Linked DNA regions of Homo sapiens: all the other regions are linked to region 3. Evidence: promoter capture Hi-C in human tissues and cell types (Jung and others, 2019). All regions are on one chromosome and are shown on one strand. The core of a region is centred on a gene start or on the middle of the fragment in contact, and the rest is flanking DNA. Distances in the headings are between cores, read along the strand shown.

Region 1 (2,857 bases), core at 31-2,530, 350 kb after region 3:
GCCAAATGCAACAGTAGTAATAATATTAATATTTCACTTGGAGGAGCCAAATCTGGGAACATAAAAGACTCGTTCCACCCACCACATATTTTCAGAACATAGGAGCTAGCCTAGAGGGACATTTGAGTCATTTTTGGTGACTTTACTGTAACCTCCACCGGTCTTGATTGCATTCTATTTTTGATAATAAGGTTCACGCAAAGGTATTTCTGGCAGTGTGGGGGTTGTCTAGTTGGTTGTCTGTTGTAGTAAGTGCTGACAAACAGTTGGAATGAAAACTTAAATACTTATATAATCTGCAGAAAAATGGACTCACATCTGTGGGTAAAATAAGCAGATAAAATGGTGCTCAAATTAGATTTGATTTTCCCCCCTAGAATTGGCAATGTGTAAATGAGGCTGGCAAGTGACGGCAGGCATCAGATGACACTGAATAAGAATGGCAAAACTGCAATGCCAGCTTGGTTCCAGGCAGCTACGGTCAGGTGATTTGCCCATCCATAAAGAAGCACATGGAAAAGATTGCAAGAGTTGGGATGCTGAGATGGCAGAACTGTGATTTGAGGAATGCCAGCAAATCAGTGTTCAATCAGCATAGATGTTTGTCTGAAGTCCAATAGAACTGCAAGTCCAACTTTTAATTCACTTACGCCAATTACCCCCACCATCCCCCATAGGCACAAGATTGCTTTACTCAAACGTATCTCTCATAGAAGAAAATGATCGGTCTTATTTGTTCCATTTCACCAGTTACTGAGGAAATGGATAAGACATTTCTGGTGCCATTTTGAAAAAATGAATCCAATGTAGGTCACATTGGAATGAAAACAAAGATGCCCTTCTGAAGCTACCATTGTGGGGGTAATAATGTGTAATAATATTACAGTAGTAATATTATTAATATTTCACTTGGAGCTCCTGTTGGGGGGAATAAAAGCATAACGCAAAAGCAGGGAATAAATATCTGCAATTATGCATTAGCTAATGCATGTAGCTGTCCTTGCCCAGGCTTGGAGTTATGGGTTTGCATTTTCTTTTCTAAAACAGTTTTTTAACACTGACATCTTGGCCTTGAAGACAAATGTTTCTTCACTTGCTTAGAATAAGAAATGGGTTGTGCTGGCTTAGAAACACAGAATGCAGTGAGGTTTTCTGGCTTTTTGTTTTTTTAAGAAAAAAAATTCAGAATATATAACCTACCAATAGGATCTGAAGGGAGAGGGTCTGGTCTAAACCTTCTTGCCAGGCCATCTCAATGGCCTTCTTATGTACACGTGGAAAAATAAGAGAATTGAAAAGAAGTCTGTTTAGGTTTCCAACTGTTCAGAAAACAAAGCATGGTTTCCTCTTCAGTTTTCTATTTTGTAAATATTTCGGTACAATAACGTAGCCCCACATTTTAATTTGACTGACTCACCATGGGAGGGCAAATCGAATAGCTAAAAGGAAGTCTTTAGGTATGATGGCACTGGAAAATATTCAGAACTCAAGATGGGGGTGGGTAGCATCTGGGGAAGAGGAGCTGTGGGGTGAACAGGAAGTTTGCTGACTGCGGACTTGAGCATCATGCCTCATAGGCCTTGAATAAGCAGAGGCAGGGGTCCCTGGTGCTCAAGCTTCTCACTGAAAAAGAAATGGGATTGTTTGCCTGCAGTGGTTACTGAGGGAAGACCCACCCTGACCGAGTAGGTGCTGCTGAAGGCATCCATCAGGTGCTCTGCCCACCTGCCCAAGCAATTTTGAAGGGAGACCAATAGAAAACCAAGAGCTGAATGCCTGAGAAACATCTCCCCCGCTAAAGCCATTTCTGGGGCAGCCCCTCCACACTGCTGATACCTGTGTCCAGATGGCCACTTTGACCTTGGCTGCAGTCGCTCAGGTCCTCTTCTGTCCATGCCTGGCCTGGCCTTGGCTGGAACACTATGGAGGGGCAGGAGGGGGTGGCCATCTGGTGTGGGAGGCGTTGGCTGTAGGTCCTCTCGGGAGACAGGTGGTTCAGCGGCAGGAAGGACTTACCAGGCTGAAACTAATCAGAAGATGGGCTGGCTGCTGGTGTGTGCTGGAAGCTCACAGAAATGTTACAGAGCAAGGCAGACGGTGGAGGGTGGAGAGGCCGGCAATGAGGAACTGGGTCACCCTCATCATTCCTCCCTTGGGGTGGCCCTGAGTGAAGTCCCTGGGCCACAGGTCTAACCAGCAAAGGAAAAGCCAGCACCCCAAGGTAAGAAGAGAGGCCCAGGGGCCATGAGGAGGGGAAGGCCCTAAGACTGGAGGCCTTTACCCCTGGACCACTGCCCCAAGCTTGTGTGTCCCAAGCCTTTGATGGCCACCCCAGTGGCTCCTTCTGGAAGGTGGCTGTGGCTTGGTCTGATCCAAAGGGACTCCTGGAGCTCTGGATGCCATGAAGAGGGAGCAGTGGCATGAAGGTCTCCATCCCTGGTCCATTGGATCTGCCTCCACCAGCCTGGTGTCATCCAGAGCTAGAGGCATCACCAAAGAACTCTAGGAGGCCACCCTCTGGCATGGAAAACACATGGACCAGAGCAGCCCCAGCCATGGCATTCACTCACTCTTGACCTTGGTGAAGCCATTGAGCTCTGCAGGCCACATTTGTTCACCTAGCAAGTAAAGAAAATGAACCTGGTAGATAGACTGTCTCTAGATTCCTCTCAGGGAATGGTGACTTGAAGCCAGAAGATTGTGAGTTTGAGTCCTAGCTCTCCAACTTCCATGTTATATGATCTTGGGGAATTTACCTTCATCACCTGAACCTTCATTCTCTCATTGGAAACATGAAATAATAATGCTTCATTTAATCTGAAGTTAAGTGAAATAAAGTGCTCAGGGGGGTAGGTGG
Region 2 (3,121 bases), core at 303-2,802, 330 kb after region 3:
ATGGTCATAAAGCAGAACAGCGGGGCAGAGGGCCAGATGCCAGGCCTCATATTTCCAGCCCTGCCACACTTACCTGGCAGGTGCCACCACCAAGGGTGGGCAGGGCCTTCAGAGGGGAGGCCAGGCCCTGGGGGCCGAGGGGCAGGCAGGTGGCAACCTGGAACAGAGTTCTTTAATCTCTCTCTCTCTCTCCTCTCTCTCTCTCTCTCTCTCCCCCACCACGCCCCACCTCTCTGCTCCAGACAGGGAATGAGAACAGCAAACCTCAGGAGAGTGAGAAATAAAGAACAAATGGCAGCGAGGTGCTTTATGGATGACGGCAGGATGCTAAATAACAGTAATGCAGCCGGGAAGGTGCAGCATAAACGATGATGGAAGGAATTCTGTCACCATGACTCAAGTTTTACAAGGCCAGCTGGGAGCCCAAGGCCGTCTGCCTTCCCTGTCCGGGTGATGGAACACCCCTCAGCTCAGCACCCCGGGCCCTGCCTCAGTCTGCAGCTCTGGGGCTGGGCGAGGACGCCTCTCGGAACCACATTAGCGTCACTAACAGCAGCTCACAGCGCATTTACACGGGGCCGGGACGTCTTCCCTGTGAAGGTGGCTTTCTGATTGATCTCACTTCTATCCTGTTCTAATGGAGACGGTCACGGGGGAAATAGATGGCCACAGTCCTGTGACAATCGGCCCCCACTTCTCACCTTCTCTGCCTCTCCCAAGGCTAACAAAGATCACCTGGTTTATGCATCACAGGGAATGCAAGCTGGGGCTGGAGCAGCTTTTTATCTTATTAATTTTTTTGCCTTTGCTTCACTGCCTGCCCTCTTAATTCTTCACTGCCCCCCTGGTTTTACATAGATCCTGGTTCTCCCTGCACGTCTCTACCCTCAGCCAACTAATTTATTGAATGGCTCTTACCTAAGGCCAAATGAAGTTCTCCTTTATTGACACAATTTCTCAAAGTCTGTAACGTGTAGACAACGACTTCACCTCACGTTCTCTTTAATTAATGGAGAGCCACTCACCACCCTGGGTCCACCAGCCACACACCTGTGCACCTCACATGTTAATTTCTTTTTCACCCTGCTGGCTGTATGCTTCGAGGTCTGGCCAAATGATAGAGACACAGAGAATTGCTTCCTTTCCTTTTTTTTTTTTTTTTTTTTTTTTTTTTGAGACAGGTTCTCACTCTGTCGCCCAGGCTAGAGTGCAGTGGCATAATCTTGGCTTGCTGCAACCTCAACCTCCTGGTCTCAAGCAATCCTCCCACCTCAGCCTCCCGAGTAGCTGAGACCACAGGCACACACCACCATGTCCAGCTAATTTTATTTATGTATTTATTTATTTTTGAGATGGAGTCTCGCTCTGTCGCCCAGGCTGGAGTGCAGTGGCGCGATCTCGGCTCACTGCAAGCTCCGCCTCCCGGGTTCACACCGTTCTCCTGCCTCAGCCTCCCGAGTAGCCGGGACTACAGGCGTCCACCACTACACCCGGCTAATTTTTTGTTGTTGTTGTATTTTTAGTAGAGACGGGGTTTCACTGTGTTAGCCAGGATGGTCTCAATCTCCTGACCTCGTGATCCACCCGCCTCAGCCTCCCAAAGTGCTGGGATTACAGGCGTGAGCCACCGCGCCCGGCCTCGTCTAGCTAATTAAAAAAAAAAAAAATGTATAGAGAAGGGGTCTCACTGTGTTGCCCAGGCTGGTCTTGAACTCCTGGGCTCGAGTGATCCTCCGGCTTCGGCCTCCCAAAAGTGCTGAAATTATAGAGGTGAGCTGCTACTTTTATTCAGTTCTTCACTCAGAAACTGCATGTTGAATGAATAAACACCACACAGCTCCTGCCCCCACGAGAGGGTCAATGGGATTTGGACACGGGCTGGGCCATGGATTACGAATCATCCTCTGTTGAGTCACACAACATAAAATAAGGGATCACGTTAATTGTCCAGAATCATTTTTACCTAAAAGATACTTTTATTTGAAATATCCAGGTAGTTGGGTAAAATTGGAGTTTGCTAAATTGTTTTTGGCCAAACCCTCAGCTAGCTCCCTCTGATTTGTCAGCTCTTGTCTCTGCCTGTGAAGCTATAAAAGGGGAACCCAGAACTGCTTCCTGTTGGTTGTGCCCACTTGCCAAGTTCTAGCCTTACAAAACCCTGTCCTCTAAGATGAGACTCTAAATATGTTAGGCAACCTATTTCAATCCTTTTATTTCACTAAAAGTCACTGAAAGAAAGCACAAATCCTGGATTAGTACATAACTTCTGTTTGCTCTTTTACTAACGAAAAGACCGAAAACTCCCAAAACAGAAATTCTCTCTGCTCTACCTTGCCAAATCACTAGCTTAAGAAGAAGGCAGGGCATTCTAATTAGAACTAGACCCAGCACAAGCTAAGATGTGTTTTAAATTATTTGAATAGCTAATATATTCACAAAGATCAACATTTTTTAGCATGAAAAGGTAACCAGGAAAAAGTCTTCTTCCCAGCCATCCCTTCCTCTCTCAATTTCCACCCACCTCCATTTCCACGCACAGGTAACTCTGTTTTGATATTCTTAATGTATTCTTCTGGGCTTCTTTATGTAGATCAAGCAACTATTCATATAGATTCTTTGGTTACCCCCACACATACCTTCACATGTTACATGCACTCTTCTCCTTTGCTTTGTTCTGCATTATTGTGTATCTTACAGATCTTTTCTTATTTAGAGGTCTTCCTCCTTTACACATGGAATTCCATTGTCCTTAATAGAGAGCTTCTTTCTTTTAACATGGTATCCCATTGTATGGATGCCTCATCTGCTGAACTACCCATCTCTCAATGGTCTTGGATTGTCTCTACTCTTGTGATTACCATGCTGAAGTGAATAACCTGGTATATACAGCATTTTGCATGTGGACTAGTAGATCTGTAAGACAAATCTCAGAACTGGAATTCAAGGCCAAAGGGATATACTTTTCTAATTTTGATAGGTGTTGTCAAATAGCCTCCAGAAGGGTTGCTCCAATGTGCACACCCAACAGCAATATATAAACATGCCTGTTTCCCAGAGGCCCGCCAAAATGGTGTTATCAAACATGTTTCTCTTCCAATCGATTAGTTGAAAAATGAAGTCT
Region 3 (2,902 bases), core at 73-2,572:
AGTGCGTCTTGGCAAGGCTGTGAGACGACAGAACTCCCTTGCACTGCTGCTGCTGGGAGTATTTCTTTACACCTGGGCTTTGGAGAGCAGTGGGCAATGCCTGGTAAAGGTGAAAAATAGTGTCTGTTGCACTGGGTTTGTCAGCAGGTAGCAGAAATCCTGGAAGGGTTTACTCCACACACAACAGTATTGCCTGGTACAGCAGCTCTGCAACACCAAAAGAGGTGGCCCACCACCTTTTCCTCCTCTCCTTACCATGTGGCTTTTGGCATCATAGTGCAAGAGGACCTGTGCATCTCCGGTGTCACATCTAAGGGCCACCTCTGGCCCTTCAGTGCTGGCAGTGGATAAGGTCCTCTATCACTACTACAGCAACTCTCCTTGGAAAACCTAGGAGGGTGACTGGAGGAGGAAAGGGTGGAGGACACAATTTCTGAGTGAGAGAGCAGCTGGACAGGTTGTCCTGCATGTGTTTACTCTCGTATTCACACGGAGTAGCCAAGAGAATTGGCAAGACACAACATTAAAAAAAAAAAGAAAGAAAGAAAAGCAGAAAACACCTTACTGAGTAGAAGGGAGGCAGGACGTGTGTGTCCAGGCCCCGAGAGAAACGCCAGATTTCACGAGCAGCCTTTGCAGCCCTGGGGATGCCAGGTGGCCCTTGGCAAGGCTCATGAGCTCTGGAGCTGGCCCATGACCTTGCTGGGACTTGTGGCATCCCATCCATTGCTGTATGTCCCTTGTTTCCTATTTGTAAATGTTGAAGGTTGTCGTGGAGAAAAAATAAAAACAGGTGAATGTTTAGTTTAGCACAGCACTTGGCATATAATAATTATTCATGAGTGTTACTTCCTCATGGTCTCAATGCTGTGCCAGGCAGGTAAGAGTGGCTGTGAGTGAGTCCTGAGGTTGGGTCCGAGCTGAGACACAGAGGCTGCCACAGAAGGAGATGGTAGGCAGCGTGGGTCCTGGGTGCAGCAGTGCCACTGATGCAGACAAGGTCACCCCCAGCCTGGGACTCAACTTACTTCTCTGAAAACTAACAGGTTGGAACATACAGTTGCCAGGGGGACATGCAACTCAAACATTATTGGTTCAAAAATTGAGAGGGTACAAAATGTTTGCCATTACCCCCAAATCATCTTGTCCTTACCTGTCTGAGCTGACCACAGGGCTTCCTCAGCTGGGACCTGGTGGCTCTTTGCCTCTTACCCTGGGGAGTCACAGCTGCAAGGAACCAGTGGCAAGAATCCTCCGAGGGTTTAGAAGACTCCTTTGCCCATTGTGATGGGTGAGTTCCCATTCCATGACAACAATGGGCACCCGCACCTTCCCCTCCTGGAAGAGGCTGAGAAGTAAAGATCAGGAACAAGGAGGAGGAGGAGCTTCCCAGACGTGTAGAGCTTATGAAGTTTAGGAAGCAGCTTCCCAGACATGTAGAGCTTATGGAGAGGTGAGGGAGCCAATCTCAGCCACATTCAGCTTCCTGGAGAGAATGACCAAAGGGCGACGCTTCAACCCACCTTCAGACAAGGATGGGAGATGGGTAAGGAAGATGGTGGCCCCTGGTGCCTTTCTCATGCCACGTGGGTGTGGTCAACAGTCTGAGGAGTTCCAATCCTGCTTCTACTATTACTGAAGCATGACCTTTGACAAATCACTTCACTTTACTCAACCTCAGTTTCTTCATCTGTGACATGGGAATCCTCTAACACTCTTGCAAAGATTGAATGAAATAATGCATGTAAAATGCTCAGCACACTGGAACCTCGTGAATGTCCACTAAGCAGTCATTCCTGCTCTACTTTTTCTTTCTTCCTTAACATCTATTTTCTAACATACTACAGAACTTATTCTCTTATCTATGTTATTTTTCTCCCCTTGCTAGAATATAAGCTCCATGGAGCTGGGATTTTTGTCTATTTTATTCACTGATGTATCCCCAGTGCCTAGAACAGGATCTGGAGCATAGAAGGCACTCAATACATATGTGTTGAAGTAATTATATTATACTAGAAACCTCTAAACAAATTCTTGTTGGCTCCCAATCCAATTCCTTTAGCCCCTCCGGCCTATGAAATGAGAAGAGTCCAGGAATGCATCATTTACTCATCTTCATCACTTGAAAACTTTCCCTTTCCAGCTTCACGCTCTCCCCCAACTCTTGCTCTTCTGATGTCACTTACAGAGCCTGTGGGATTTTTCACTCTTCTACCATCTTCAGGAAACATTTGGGTCACTCCTAAGTGTGAGGTCTTAGCCTTGTCGGCCAAGCACTTCTCTCCTTTGCTCTTCAACATGTATATTTCATGGCCGACAAGCCTCAAGCCTTTCCCATTTCTGATTTCTACAATTCATTCACAAAAAGAATGTTAAGGGGAAATCACAGCAGTAGACTCGCAATGAGAAACATAATCAGAGAAAAACCTGACGTCGACTTCTTTTAGGGTAGCAACAGGTAAAAAATTGTTAAAATTTTAATTTGTTTCAAAGAAAAACAGAAAACACTTCAGCAAATTTGGGTCTGAAGGCTTTAAAAAACTGATCTACCCACTTGGATACAACCTTGGCTAAGCAGCTTAGTCTTTCTAAGTCTCAGTTTCTTTGTCTGTAAAATGGGAGCATAATGTACCAAGGGTAGAAGACCATGGTGGGGGATTCACGACTCATTAACAAGTGCTCAGTACAATGAGTGAGCACATAGAAACCACTTAACATATATACACTTTGTATGTATGTGTACATATACGTGTATACACACAAATGTATACCTTGTTTCATTCCACAAAAATTTAAAGCATGGAAAATGTACACAATAAAATAATACAGTATAAATCAAATAGAAAGTTATAACTAGTTTTATAAATACTTTAGAAAGAGAAGAGGCTGAGTCTGAGAACAC

What was found. The method cuts DNA at HindIII sites, captures the fragments that hold promoters and counts their contacts. A contact is called where the count stands out against the background at its distance.
Region 1: a fragment that was not itself captured here is called in contact with the fragment with the promoter of TEX36 in region 3 in 1 of the 25 tissues and cell types used here (adrenal gland).
Region 2: a fragment that was not itself captured here is called in contact with the fragment with the promoter of TEX36 in region 3 in 1 of the 25 tissues and cell types used here (dorsolateral prefrontal cortex).

What each region holds. Positions count from the first base shown.
Region 1 is chr10:125,330,357-125,333,213 of GRCh38, reverse strand. No RefSeq gene overlaps it. Among named protein-coding and RNA genes, the nearest start is that of CTBP2, 170 kb to the right of the region's middle. The HindIII fragment of the contact is 3,036 bases long and covers 1-2,798 here.
Region 2 is chr10:125,353,206-125,356,326 of GRCh38, reverse strand. No RefSeq gene overlaps it. Among named protein-coding and RNA genes, the nearest start is that of CTBP2, 190 kb to the right of the region's middle. The HindIII fragment of the contact is 7,970 bases long and covers 1-3,121 here.
Region 3 is chr10:125,681,583-125,684,484 of GRCh38, reverse strand. TEX36 (testis expressed 36) reads left to right here and starts at 1,322. Exons shown (of 4, transcript NM_001128202.3): 1 at 1,322-1,546. The coding sequence starts at 1,496. LOC283038 (a long non-coding RNA gene) reads right to left here and starts at 1,242. Exons shown (of 5, transcript NR_033848.1): 1 at 1,154-1,242. The HindIII fragment of the contact is 13,590 bases long and covers 1-2,902 here.